Linked DNA regions of Homo sapiens: region 2 is linked to region 1. Evidence: promoter capture Hi-C in human tissues and cell types (Jung and others, 2019). All regions are on one chromosome and are shown on one strand. The core of a region is centred on a gene start or on the middle of the fragment in contact, and the rest is flanking DNA. Distances in the headings are between cores, read along the strand shown.

Region 1 (7,340 bases), core at 1,615-4,114:
AGGCATAAAATATAATACATCTCCATAAGTCTATAATATTGATATCAATAAGTAATTGAATACTTGGTAGAGAATAGACAGCTCTCCTGTACAGAATTCCATATACTTTATGTACACACTCTGCCCTCAGGGAGGTAGAGCCAAAGTCCCACTCCTTAGGTTTGGGTTTCATGTAGTTACTTCCTACAAGTACAGTATGGAAGGGATGGGCAATAACGTTACAGTAGAGAAACCTGACAAACACTGCCTCAGCCAGACAATCAAGGTCAACACATCACCAGTCATAAATCACATCGGTACTATAGCACCTTGATATGATGTGAGGAAAAGGGACTTTACCTCTTTCTTTCTCCTGCCAATAGTTCGCAACTCCAGTCTTATCATAAGAAAAGCATCAGACAAATTGCAACAGTGAGGCCTTCCAGCAAATACTTGACCACTACTCCTCAAAACTGTCAAGGTCATCAAAAACAAGAAAAACTATCACAGCTAAGAGGAGCTTAAGGGGACATGACAACTAAATTTAGTGTGGTATCCTGGATGGATGCCTGGAACAGATTTAAGGATATTAGGTAAAAACCAGGGAAACTTAAATGTAGTTAGACTTTATTTATAGTTAGTAATAATGTATCAGTATACATTCATTGATTGTAACCCAATGATATGGTTCAGATTTGTGTCCCTACCCAAATCTCATGTCAAATTGTAATCCCCAATTTTGGAGGAGGGGCCTAGTGGGAGGTGACTTGATCATGGGGGAGGACTTCCCCCTTGGCTTTCTGGTGGTAGTGAGTTCTCATGACATCTGGTTGTTTAAAAGTGTGTAGCACCTCCCCCTTCTCTTTCTCCTGCTCCAGCCATGTAGGCCCTGCCTGCTTCCCCTTTGCCTTCCACCATGATTATAGGTTTCCTGAGACCTCCCCAATCATGCTTCCTGTACAGCCTACAGAACCACCAGCCCTTCTTTATAAATTACCCAATCTCAGGTAGTTCTTTATAGCAATGCCAGAATTACACCAAGGTACCTTACTATTGTATGATGTCAATAGGAGACACTGGGAATGGGATATATGGGAACACCCTGTATTATTTCTTCAATTTTTCTGGACACCAAAGCTGAAAAATATAGTCTATTAAATAAAAAAAGTAGTGATGATTTGATTATAACATCAGTGTAGTGATAGAGATATCTATAAAAACAGCAATAAGGAATTAGCTGTTGTTTCTATTGGAAACAAAGTCCCAGGTACTCCTAACATTCTTGTGGTTTGTTGCCTACATTATGTTTAAAGGACATGCTAAATGCTAAATTTCAGTTAGAAGTTAGTGAAACTAAAAATGAGATTTTTCCCATTATACTTAATCTGTATAAAAGGAGTATATGAATAGAATTCCATTTATACAGATTAAGAATCTCCTGCTCTATGGTAATATTAACGGGCTAATGTTATGAAAGTGAGTCTCAGAGCGATGAATTAAGCTGTTCTAGCTTTCAAAGAGCATATATTCTATGACCAAGAATTCTAACTAAGTTTTGTTGGAAAGCTGTTGGCTACATTATCACCTAACTTTGGGACTGATAGATGGATGGAAACATCTCATTTAGCAAAGGTGCTTCCCTGGCCTTGTGCAATTGCACTGTTTAGGTTGCTGGACAAATCCATAGTGTAAAGCTGGCCTGTATCAAGTGACGGTCAATTCAAACAGCAAGGCAAGTTAAAAGAGGGAACTCCATTCCACAGAACCCTAGTGTCAAGGAACCTCCCGACTGGAAAATGACTCAACAGCTAGGCGGAAACCCTGGCTCAGCTACAAAGAGAGCAAATTTAGTCCCATTTTTCCTTAAACATTCAACCCTCAAACCTGAAGAGATTTGGGAAAGAAGCAAAACGGGAGGGTGGGGGAGAGAGAACAGTCTTGTTAACAGCTAGTGTTAATTTAAAAAGAGAAGGAAAGGGCTTATATGAATACATGCTTATTTCATTCCCAAAGCAAATTTTCATAAATCCTTAGGGAAAGAGAGATAGTCATTTGCTAATGTAGACTCTGCTTTTTGATTCCCAAATGTTACAGCTGTCACCACAACAGTTTGCCCAATTATGTGGCAGGGAGGGGAGGGGGTCCAGAGCAAAGGAAGTAGGAGGAAGAGATGTTAGAGGGAACATCTGTGCACAAGTGCACCATAAACACAACAAAATCATGGGGCCACCCCACTGTTTCTTTGAGCGCTTTCTCTGGTTGGCCCCACTTCTCCAGTCTTTTAGGAGATTCCCGTTCTATTACGTAGGTGAGAGGGCGAAAGGTTCTAGCTTTCAAAATTGTGAGTGGTTTGGCTGTGTGCATACGTGTGTGTGCGCGCGTGTGTGCGTGTGTGTGTGTGTTTGCGTGTGTGTCTGTTGGCGGGGGCGGGGGTGATGGAGAGAGCTATGAAGGGCTTAGAAAGCTTCATTACCAATTTAAAATGTTTTTGTAGTGCTTGAATGTTTATCTTAAAAGACAATTCCTGCTCTCAAATTCAGCCAAATGAACAATGCTGATAAGGAAGATGAAGAGGGTGGGAAACCCACAGGGGCAAATGGAACAGTCCATGCAGCCGGGGTGACGGGGGAGCGCTCGGAGGAAGGACGCTATGCAGAGAAAGCCCCCCTGGCTCTTCTCTCTCAATCCATAATCCAGCGATGCTGCAGCTGTAAAAGCATTAATAGAAAATCAATCCACAACCTCGCGGGGCAGCGATCGTCGAGCGCCGTTTCCAGGCTGCCTTCCCTGGGGTCGGGAGCGGCCCCGCTCCCCCCGTGGCTGGCGCGGAATGTGGTGATCCGTCCCGGGGCGGGGATGACTTCATGCAGCCGGAGCTCCGCGGCGGGAGCGGAGGCTGCTGCTGGCAGGTGGGGCGCGGGCCGGCGCGAGCTGACCGAGCACTCGGCGGGCGCGGCGGGACTGCGGCCCGTGGCGGCGTGCGCGGGGACCTGCGCTGACTAGGTCCGGGGAAGGTAAGCAGCCCGGCACCGGTGCGCCCTGGCCGCACTGCGTGGAGCTTTCCGCTTGGTTAATAATGGGGTTTGCAGCACGGAGGGAAGAAGGGGAGAACCCCGCTGCATTCTGCAATGAGAAAAGGAGCAACAACTAGGATGGAAATGTTGGGCGGCCAAGTGCAGAGGTTGGAGGAGCAGTGTTACTGGGCAAACAAAGAAGGCGTTCTTGCCTCTATACTCTTTTGAACGTGATCTACCATTTCAGTGCCAGATTCGCGTAGACAGTGAAGAGGACTCAAAATTTAAAATAATTTGAGTTACTCTTTTGCTTTCTGTGCCTTTTACCTTCGCTTGAGTATTTTGAGGATTTGGAGCAGTAGGTCCCTGGCAGCAGCCTGAGGTAATCAGAAATCGTCCCTCTTCCTGTAGTCCTTGGTCCTCTCCCTTTCCAGTTATCAGAATGGGTCTGTGCCCCTCTCAATGGCAAAACACCTGCTTCAAGACTGAACCTTTAGAAAGAGCCTCTATCTGGAGGGGAAACTTCTCTTATCTCCTGGAGTTCAGCTTGGGTTGAGCAGCACTTGACATCGCTTCTTCCTTCAATTGCCATTTTCTCTGTCAATCATTTCATTGATCTTTTTCGGAGATGCTGTGCCCATTCACAGACCAACTCTCGTCAGCTCTTATCCACCACCTGGGTTCCATGACTGATTTTGTCAAGGTCCCAAAAAGGGCATTGCCTCACACAGATTTCTTATTCGGTATTCTCCCTGTATACTGTTACCTGTGTCCTTCCCCCAAATGCATGGAATGAAATATCCTGCTTGTGGCCCTGTACCAACATGTTATCCCATTAACTCCCTTCGCTGTAGTCACTGTGGCTACTTGAAAGCTAGAGAGGACAGATAGAATCTACTGGAGTGTGAGGGATGTTCCCTATGCATAGGCATAGGTAGAAGTAAAAATGTGAATGCCAGTCCATCCAGTTTTTCTTGAAGCAATTTTAGTCCAGTTGGATTTTGAGACAGCTAGCTGTTAAGATTTGGGACAAATCCTTTCCAAAAGGCAGAGGAGTCCGTTTGCCTCTAGGATTCCTCAAGAACCTCAAAAGAGTTTCCAGTGAGGTTTTCCTCGTAGGCAGTCAGAAAGCCAATGGAGCTGCCCAATCTAAGCCTCTGGTTGAGTATCCTCTAGTTTGTCTTGCCATTTGCAGGTTCCTATCCCTCGTCCTAGGATTTTCCCCACAGACCCCTTGCTACTGAGCCCAAGTGCCTATCCTTGTTGCCACCTAGAGATGTACATTTGAATAATATGCTGTGAAATGGTTAAGATGGCTGTTATGGGGATTGCAAACGTGCCACTTCACCAACAGAGAACAGTTGCAATAAGCCAGATTGTGGGGTATCTGTGTGCCAATGTTCTATTTAAAGGAAGATCTGTTATCTTTAAACTTAAAATTACAGAGACTGTCTGACTCAACAGCCATGCAATTTTATTTTAGTAAATTAAATTAGAAGATCAATGAAAAAGAGGGGCAGAGTTGGTAGCTTAAAATTTTACCTCTTTCTTTCCTCTTCAAATATTATTTTTAAGCAAAGACACTAGTATGGAAAATCGTGTTAATCATATTATATATCATTATTGCCTTTCTATTACAAATTTCGTTTTTACAAAATGCACTTTAGAAAGATTTGAATTTGTTTCTTTGTCTCCATCTTCAGTATATGAGGCATAGGGTGAGGGTGTAGGGGGTGGGCAAAGCCCACTACTGAGTGATCCACTCCAGGAACTGCCCCTTGGGGTCTTAATAACCTTATGTTCCTTTTTTGTTGTTGTTATTATGTGTTAAACAGGGTTTTGGTTTGAAATATTAACTTCTTGAGATTCTAGAATTTTTACTCAGTCACATTAACTATGAGGTAACAAAGAACAAGATCAACAACAAACCCTGTATTCTACCACCTTTTTTCTACTATTAAAATACTTAACCATATACATCATTATTCTGAATAATACTAATATAGAATAATAATGAATTTTAATATAGTTATTCTAAATAACCTAAGGTATATGAAATACAGATTAGTACAATTGATCTTAGAAATACAATGCAGTTTCTGTAATGTTGACAGTCACCTTTCTGTTGAAGAGCAAGTGCGTGAGAATATCCTAATGATGGTTAGAAATTCGAAGTGTCTATCATTTAGTTTCTGAAGAAACTAAACTCTTTGGCAAGAAATAGGTTCAGGATTAGGAGACTGGTGCTGCCTAAGGTGGAATAATACTTGCTAGTGATTTTGCAGGTGAGTTGAACCCACTAAGTTATGGACTGGAGTTGGAGAAATCTTGTTGAGAAGAAAGAAAACAAGTTAGAAAATTTAATTTTCATTTTAGTACAACTGAGGAAGATAATCAAACTGAAGGGATTCCTGAATTTGGACTTTGTTGTGTTTAAACAAGTTTGAGGAAAGTTTCTAAATTTAGAAGGCTAAGCAGAAATATATGTATGATTTTATGTCTGAAACTGATTTATGACTTTATATCCTTTCCTTAAAATGTTTCCTAGGGAGAGGAAAAACTAATTGGCTGGTGTTCAGAATTGAAAGAGGAATGAAAAATGGAAGGACGTGCATGATTAGATGCTAAATGATTAGATACTAAATGAACTGCAGGCACTTTTGTGTTTGACAAGATAGAACTGAAGTCAGTCTACTGCTCTCCAATTGTGTAAAAAAAAAAAAAAAAGTTTTGTCTGCTAGACAGTGTTACCAGATATTTAGAGAGTAAAAATTTAGGAGTTAAAGTTGCCCTCTTCTAACAAAATATCTTTTTCTGGTGCTGCATTACTGCCATTAACTACAATTGAAATAGCCTTAAGATTTGAGGCTGAGGCAGGAGGATTGCTTGAGCCCAGGAGTCTGAGGCTGCAGTGAGCCATGATGGCACCACTGTACTTCAACCAGGGCAACAGAATGAAACCCTGTCTCAAATTAAAAAATAAAAACTTTTTTAAAAGTTCAGAAATGTTGAAATGGAAAAGGAAAAAGAATAGCAATAATAAGGCTCAAATAGAAATGTCATTTCTATTCAACCAGTGACTCCACTGAGAATGGGTAGAAAAAAGTGCTATTTTGAAAGTTGCCAATGACCTCTTAATTGCCAGATTTCTATAATATTTCACCCTGTTCATTTTATAAGTCCTCTTCTATGTTATTCTTGGATTCAATATTTGTGTTTAAAAGGTAATATTAAGTACTATGTATCAGGCACTGTGATATCTCTTAATCTAATTTGTCACTAATTCCCTTAAAGTACCCCATGCCCAACCTAAACCAAGTGGATCTTCTTTCCAATTTGTACCCCATGGTGGCATGCCTATGTGTTTTCATTTATTCTGTTAGCCCATCCTCTTACATGTCGAAACCTTGTTCACCTCAGATACTGACTCACTTATGAAGCCTTCCCCATACCCATCTTCCTTCCCCAACCAGATGTGCCCCTCTCTTGTTTAAATTCCCATAGCACATTCTATTTTGGGTTATCCTTTCATGTGAACATGCTTTGTCTGCTCTTCTAAAAAAAACTCTTGAAAGCAGGGTCTGGGAATAAGTTTTTATTACCTGCAACTCTATGGTGTCTAGCTACATATATGTATTATAGGTGTTCAGCAATTTGATTTTAGTGAAGAAATAAGTTATTTTCCAGAGTTATAAATCTATCTACCTACACTCCTCTACCAGCCAAGTTAAGTTCTCAATATATGTGCAAATGCTAATTTGGTTTTTTAAAAATCATTATAGTAATAATAAATATACTGAGAGTACATTCAAATCATTATAATCTACAAAAGGTATTATGAGCTTAAATGTCCTTAAATGGATACTAAAAGCATGGTGAGCATAGCAAAACCAATCTTTAATGAAGACATTGTACCTGCTTTCAGTATTATTGCATTGAAGGCACCTTATGCATATGAGCATTTATCTTGTTTCAAGCCACTCATCTAGGGACTTTCATCTTTGGTATCTCATTTGATGTTTATACTATATGTGAATTTTACACTAAGAAAACTGAGGCTCAGAGATGTCACCTGAATGGCAGAGATTTTTTCCATATTACCACCCGCTCTTTGAAGTGTAACAGAGTGAGGGAAAACATTGTAAAAACATAAAGTCAGAGCCATCAGAATAGTTTCAAGTTGTTTTGTGATTAATCTTTCCAGTGCTTTTTAAACTTTTAGGTTAACATCTCAAACTTTTGATAACTCAGTAAAGTCTGTACATCTTCTCCCCAAGTACATACAGAAGCATACACATATTAATTTTGCATACAAATGCAGGTGTTTGTGGATTCACTAAAGCTCTC
Region 2 (7,852 bases), core at 2,038-4,537, 570 kb after region 1:
TATCATACCCCAACATTTCATGGAATATTTTATACATATACATCTATAATGTATATGTATGTCATATTATATGTGTAAATGACATATATATGTCATGTCTCATCACATTATCTGTAAGCTATGTGAAGTCAGTGGTCCTAATATAGACTTACATGAATTCATTACTATGTCTGGAACAGTATATTGCATATAACAGGTGTGTGACTACTATACTAAGTCAGTGCTTTCTCATTCCTGCAAAACAAAATTATTTTAATAAAATGACCTTTAATATGTTAGCAGCCATTTAAGAATTGAGATTTTTAAAAGAAAGATGAAGACAACAGACAATAAACCATTAAAAAAAAAAAAACATCTGGAGCTGAAATCTTTAACGAGAAAATTGTAAGCAAATATTTGAAACTAAATCCTCTGAGGCATGATGTTTAATTAAAAAGGTAGAGCTTGTTAAAATAACTACAATTCAGCATGGTTCCAGTCACTAAATTTTATCTTTGCAATTACAGTTTGTTTTCATTAGATGATAGAGGAGGGTCCAGATTTAAAGGATACAGAAAAGCAGCAGAGCTTACAAACTGTGGTCCTATCATTGCTCTTTGGCATTAGATGTTCTTAGAAAAGGGAGTTTTGAGGAATGCACTGTGTACTATTAAAGGTAGCACAATTCTGTAGGATAGATGAAAGTAATCACATTTTCCATGACGTGTGTGTGTGTTGTTGTTGTTGTTGTTGTTGTTGTTTTGCCATATATAGATGAATAACATTCTTCTACTTATTCCTCCTCCAGAGTGACTTTACAAACACCAGACAGTGCAATAGATTAATAGAGGTGTCAAATTTATAGCAGGGCATTTCTTGTTTTTGGGATTCAGTCTAATTATCTTAATAAGAACAACTGCTGCTCTTATTTTCGTTTTTGTCATTTTGAGACAGAGTTTCGCTCTTATTGCCGAGGATGGAGTGCAATGGCGCAATCTTGGCTCACTTCAACCTCCGCCTCCTGGGTTCAAGCGATTCTCCTGCCTCAGCCTCCTGAGTAACTGGGATTACAGGCGCCCGCCACCATGCCTGGCTAATTTTTTTGTACTTTTAGTAGAGCCAGGGTTTCACCCTGTTGGCCAGGCTGGTCTCAAACTCCTGACCTCACGTGATCCACCCACCTTGGCCTCCCAAAGTGCTAGGATTACAGGCATGAGCCACTGAGCCTGCTGATAACTGCTGCTTTTAGAGCTATAACTATGCCAACCATTGACCTAAGCATGTATGCATACACAAACACACAAGCACACACACAAACTCACACATAATCCTCAAAACAAATATATGAGACAGGTACTATTGTTATCTACATTTTATAGATGAGGAAACTGAAGCACAAGTAAGCTAAGAGACTTGTCCAAGATTATGCAGTTGGCAAATGTAGGAGCTCAGATTCATATGGGTTGCTCTGGCTGTAGTGTCCTTGCTATTTAGCTTCAGCTTAGAATCATTCTTTAATAATTTTTAAAATATCCTTAGAAACATGTCTCTGAATATTCTCAGGCCAAAAGTGCCATTACATTCGCTGTTAAATTTAAAATATTCTAAACTTAAAAATACTTAAAAACATTTAAGCCTTTCATACGGCATCTTCAGATTCCACCCTTATGACTTAACCCACTCCTAAAACCACCAACATGTATGTATCCTTTAACGCAGCAAATGCACTTGTAGGAAAAGATCCTGAAGAGAAAAAAATGATCTGTATCTTTCCATGATGTTAGTCAAAGCATTGTTTATAATAGAATAACCATTCCTCCCAGCAATCCCATTACTGGGTATATACCCAAAGGAATATAAATCATTCTATGGTACTTTGTAATGGCAGCCTGAACTAAGACAATAAAACTATAGCATTTTTTCTCTTTCACTGTATATGAAAGTGTCATGATGTGTGTGCATGTACAACACACACAAATACAGAACAGAAAATCCTAAAAGTAAATCCACTAAAATGTTTCAAATTGTTTATCCTCTGATGGATGCCTATAGGTTATTTTAATTTTCTTCTCAGAATTATTCAACATTTCCTAAACTTTTCATAAGGTAAATATATTATCTTTGAAATCAGAAAAACAGGGACTAAAAAGTGAAACTATTTATATTCATACTTATATACACATATATATGCAGTTTCTAACGAAATATTAACTTGGCAATAGTATAAGCAAGTCTTTATGTCCCCAAAGTAATTCATCACAGTAAATGATTCTGAAAGTACATGTCAGAAAACCTATTAGTATTTCCTGCTCTGCTATTTGTTCATGTCTCCTCATTTAATGATAACTAAGGGAATTCTCAAACATAGCCAGCTCATATTCCTATTACATAGGAGTGTTTTACCTGTGGTATAATAAATTCTCACAAAACTATATCTGACAAAAAATAATACAAAATGTCAAAAGGAGCTCATTTTTATGCTATTACTGTCATTTCTGTGACAGAAAGTTGATTTACTTGTACTCTTCACCTAATAGTGGATGATAATCTGTTTTTAATTTTTTTCCAAACCCAACTATTATTTCTCTCCCATTCTATTAGTCACCCACTTCAAATGTTTCAACTGTATCCCTAAATATATTTACCTTTTCAAAATATGTGCTATATTTTCCATGGTTGTGTTTTTTTTTAATTTATAGAAAGGTATATCATGTTTTGTTTCTTTTCGTTAATATTTCTGAGACATATCCATATTTTGTGATTGACGCATCGTATCCCATTGTGCCTGACTCTGCCATATTTTACTTACTCCCTTATTGATGGATTCCTAGGTTGCCTTCTACTTTCTATCCCCTGGGGAAACACCTGGAAGAGCAGAACCTAGTTAAAGTCCTGAGCCAGAGTTTCTCTGGGATGTTAACTCAGGAGTGGGATTGCAGTGTCATACACACCCGGTTATATCACCAAATACTGCCAAACTTCATTCTAGAATGACTGTGCCAGTTTACATTGTAAACAAGAGTTACTAATTTAATTTTTAAAGTTGCAACTATTTTCTCATTTATGTGAGGCAGAAGAATTTATTTTTTCAAAACAAATTTGTTTGAAAACCTCTTTAATGTGTCTTTTGGGCTTATCTAATGGACACACATAACTAGTCTGTAAAGGAAAGCTGGAGACAGAGAAGAGTTAAGTTGGTCAGCCTGCTAATGGTAAAGGCCTTTCTGTTTAGCATGGAAAACCTTTGTGGATGTTGATGTTTTTAGAAAAAAAAAATATATATTTTTAATATGGACAAAGACTATGCTATTTCAGAGAACTATTATTTGCTCTTGGAATGTGTGTGAATTACTAACCTTGGAGAAAAGAAATAGAGGCAAGAGAACTAGAGGCAGAATGAGGAAGCCTATGTTTTTCTTCTTTTATCACAAATCTAAAGCTGGCTAGACTTGAAATGCTAAAGCTCACTAGAGAAATTCTGCTGAACCTCTAACTTGATTAGTGTGATTCCACACCGAATTGCATTGAATATGGAAATAAGCCTCTATAATTCTTGTATAACTATTGTGCCCAAGTGTTGTTGTTCTGTGGATGGCAGAAGCAGATCACTGGAAGCTTCTGTTTTGAACACAACAGGGAGGTGTGGCCTTTTTGTAGGGACCAATTTGAAACAACAAGGTTGCAGGTAACAGAAATTCAAGTGAGCTTAAATCACAAGTGTATATTAGCACATGTATCAGAAAAGTCAAGGGATGGGCTATGCACAGCTGAATTAAGAACTCGGACACTGTTTCTATTTATCCATATTGTCCCATCTCAATATTGGGCTACCTGTGAGAAATGTAGCAAACAGCAGTGACAGCTTTAGTTTTTACATTATCTTACATTCCACGTCCAATAGGAAAGAATGAGATTTTCTCTTTGAAAAATTTCAGCAAGAGTCCTCATTTCATCTAATTGGATCTAGTTCAGCCACATGTTCATTCTTGAACCAACGATGTAACTAGGAGCCAGTCAGAGTCTCTGCCAGTTTCTGAAGGAAAGAGTCAAATTCGTCAGTAATACCTGGGCTGAGAATAGAGAAGGGGTAATAATCTGAAATCAAAATCCAATCTGAGTGTTCTGTGCACAAATGCCAAGGAAGAAACACAGTAAGGGCTTAACACAACTTTATTCTCTCAGTAAAAGCTTACCAGTTCTCTGGCTGGGCGCAGTGGCTGATGCCTGTATTCCCAGCACTTTGGAAGGCCGAGGCGGATGGATCACCTGAGGTCAGGAGTTTGAGACCATACTGGCCAACATGGAGAAACCCCATCTCTACTAAAAATGCAAAAATTAGCCGATCGTGGCCGGAAGTGTGGAGGGGCGCTGGTAATCCCAGCTACTCCGGAGGCTGAGGCTGGAGAATCACTTGAACCCAGGAGGCGGAAGTTGCAGTGAGCTGAAATCACGCCACTGCACTCCAGCCTGGGGGATAGAGCGAGACTCCGTCTCAAAACAAAACAAAACAAAACAAAACAAAACCTTGCCAGTTCTCATGCTCCTTCATCATATTTGAAGAAACAAAACAGATATTCCAGGGAGTACCATACAGGTACTTAAAGACAAAGGTATTTATCTTATAACCTGGACACATATTTAGAAATATTATTTTCAGACTGTGTGTCCATGAAAGATTTTTCTGCCTAAGAATGTTCATGCCTTAATACTCTGGCCTTTCTTCCTTTTCATCTTCAACATTATTTTACAACTAGAGGATCCTCCATACACAAAAATTAACTAACTGAATTACTAAATAAAATTACGATTCTTTTCCGTATGTTTTCCTAATGAAAGTACCATATTGCATATCTAGGTCATGAAAAGGATAATAAATGTCCAAATTATCCTAATATTTCCCGTGTAAAATAGAAATAACTGAAAGGAAATACCACTCATTCGTCACACAAATCTGTAGGTAGAAAGTAATAGCTAGTCATTAGAAGCATCTCACGTGTATGATAAAATTATACTTTCTGCTTAGAGTAATGGAAAGATTTGCCTAAGGCCAAAAGAGAAACACACAGTCTCCTTCTGTTCCTCCAAACAGTTTGCACATAAAAATATATTGCTTATTTGGTACTATTATAATCTGAACTGGGAAGGAAATCAAATGTGATATATTTTTCATTCCAAGTAGGAAGCATTTTTAGACAATATAGCCCAGAACATATAAATTAAGGACTCTGGTTAACAAGCAGTTGTTTGGGTGACTGTTTTTCTAATAAGTTTCTTAGGGGATCATCTAAATAAAATCAGAGTTTGCGCAATGCTTTTTGAAAAAAGTCTTACTGCTACAGAATAGTAGATAGCAAACTCTGTACTGCGTCTTCTTGAAGACTGATATAATTAATCTCTATTCATAAATGTCTCTGCATAACATGGTTCCTTACTACACAAAAGAGTTAGCATATAAGTTCATTCTTGATGTTGAGTCTGGGAGCAAGGTTTTAAGGAAAAAAATAAAATGAATCACTGATTGAATCCTTATTAGGTGTCCGGCATGCTGTTAGGGACGTTGCAGGTAGTGAATCACAGTAGGTATAATGAATCCCTGTTTTGCAAGTGAGGAAACTAAACTTTAGACAGTAACACCAAAGCAGAGTGAACTCATTTCATTGTGCATACATTGATTAAATATGTGGATTAATCAGTCAATGTCACTCTGTGGTAGGTGATAGGGGAAAGAGGCAGAAAATTAAATTGCATTTAGCACATAATAATGTGTCAGACATGATACAAGATGATTTAAATAAAAGACCTCTTTAAATACCGAATTGTGCAGGGTAGGTTTTAAATAAGATAATGGAGGTAATATATCAGCAAAATAACTGGCATATAAGAAGCTTTCAATATGTGTTTATTATTTTATTTACATCTTCCAGGTGGGGAAACAGGTTTACACAAGTTTCATAAATTGTCTGGGGTTACAGAAAGCCATTAAGTGGAAGAATTTGTGTATATGACTCCAGACCACATTATTTCAACTGCACTGACTGATACAGAAATTTTAAATATAAAACATTTGGCACAGTAGACTCAAAAATGGCTACTATTCTAGCATGTGCTTATAGCTAGGATATATTGAAAATTTACTTTATGCCAGGAACTACCATGTACTTCACAAACACTGTCATATTTAAGCCTCACTAATATTAAGTTTGCAAATGAAGAAAGCAAGGCAGAGAAAAGGGGAGGGACTTGTCCAAGGTCACAAAATAAGGAGAAGGAGGTATGATTGGGAAGACTATTTCATTATGCAGGCCATACCTTTAATCCTGTACTACATTGTGCTAAAAGCATCATCCTCCAGCTCAGGATTTATGTTTAAAGTGTAATAGACTCTTATCTTTACACTTTCCACTATGCCTCAACATTTAGTGGTCCATAAAATAAAATATGAGCTTAATATATGGCTCATCTGACTAAAATAATCAGACAACGAAGAGATGTTTTGGATACCTTAGTCATAAACCCAGTAATAATTCATTATCATTCACTTATAACATTGAAGAACACCTTATCAGTTAAAACATGATCCCTTTAATTTGATTATTTTAGTCAGTATCATGCTGTCCAGAATGACATGGCTACATAGTCCTTTACCATTTTTATTTATGATCCACTTCACAAAGACCTAAAATGAGCATAGACCTTGTGGTATCTACTTCAGGAGAGCATTTTACATAATTGTAAAGATAAAAACAGAAGGAAAGTGCCATCATTAAGCTACAGATAAACAGAGAGAACACAATAGAGGGCCTGACTCCATATCTCCTACACATTGGCTCATGTAACCTTGTGGAACATGAATATTCAGTAGCTTCTGTGGTTTTTAATGAATATAGAAGCTAGTATGGTGTTATACAGTAAGTACTGTATTAACAAGTACAAAGTTTGGGTTTAGTCCTGGCTTTTGTTCTTATAGATGAAGCTGTGTGATCTTCACCTCTTGGAATATTTTTCATTTGAAAATTAGAGGCCATGATATCTGTCATTCTCACAGGTTTAGTTTGAAAATCAATTGGATCAAGTATGTTAAAGTATAGGGATATAAGGAATTATTTTCAGAACCAGAGGAAAAGAATAAAGTTCAGAGTAGATGAAGCAAGACATGGAAAATTGGAAAAAAAATAGGTTTAGACTTAACTTGAAGCTCTGTTTATCTATGGGAAATAAATATGTGTATGACCCCAAGAAATAGTCTCCTTCATATCTCTGAGACCCACTACAGCAATAAGATTCTTTGGCCCAAGCAAATAGTTGTCTAAAGTTGTAGAAACTAAAACTTGTGAAAGAGTATTTAACTATCAATAACCCAAACCCAAGTACCCTAGAAGACCTTTATAAAAATTCCCAGTTATAGAGGTAAAACCCTCTGATACTCACTAGACAATTTTAATCACCTCCCTCCACTAAAGAAGGCAAAAAAATGTGACTCTTCTCTATAATTAGTGGTCAAATGCTTAAGAAGCAACATGAAACATGTATAACCCCAAAGTAAACCCTGAAAATATTTACTGTTACTGTAGTGATTTAACATATATCCACAAATCTCTTGATGCTTCTCCCTCCAGTAGGTAAAGCTTAACTTCCCTATTCTTGAGTAGGAACTGGACTTTGTGACTCACTTCTGATGAACCAAACTTGGGGAGAGAAAGATAAAAACTTTATAGCAGAGAAGCCTGACAAAAACCACCTTAGCCAAATGATCAGGATTGGTCATATGTATTGATATCCTCTAGCCCTTGATATGATGGAATGAGAAGGGCATATTGGTTATGTGGAATTCTTTCCCCAAGTTCAGAGTCTCAGTTTAATCATGAAAAAGCAT

The links. The method cuts DNA at HindIII sites, captures the fragments that hold promoters and counts their contacts. A contact is called where the count stands out against the background at its distance.
Region 2: a fragment that was not itself captured here is called in contact with the fragment with the promoter of PKIA in region 1 in 1 of the 25 tissues and cell types used here (lymphoblastoid cells).

The regions. Positions count from the first base shown.
Region 1 is chr8:78,513,476-78,520,815 of GRCh38, forward strand. PKIA (cAMP-dependent protein kinase inhibitor alpha) reads left to right here and starts at 2,865. Exons shown (of 4, transcript NM_006823.4): 1 at 2,865-2,993. All of the region lies in intron 2 of LOC105375911 (a long non-coding RNA gene), which reads right to left. RefSeq lists a silencer at 2,810-3,109 and an enhancer at 3,430-3,539. The HindIII fragment of the contact is 16,159 bases long and covers 1-7,340 here.
Region 2 is chr8:79,082,638-79,090,489 of GRCh38, forward strand. No RefSeq gene overlaps it. Among named protein-coding and RNA genes, the nearest start is that of MIR12123, 250 kb to the right of the region's middle. The HindIII fragment of the contact is 3,456 bases long and covers 1,560-5,015 here.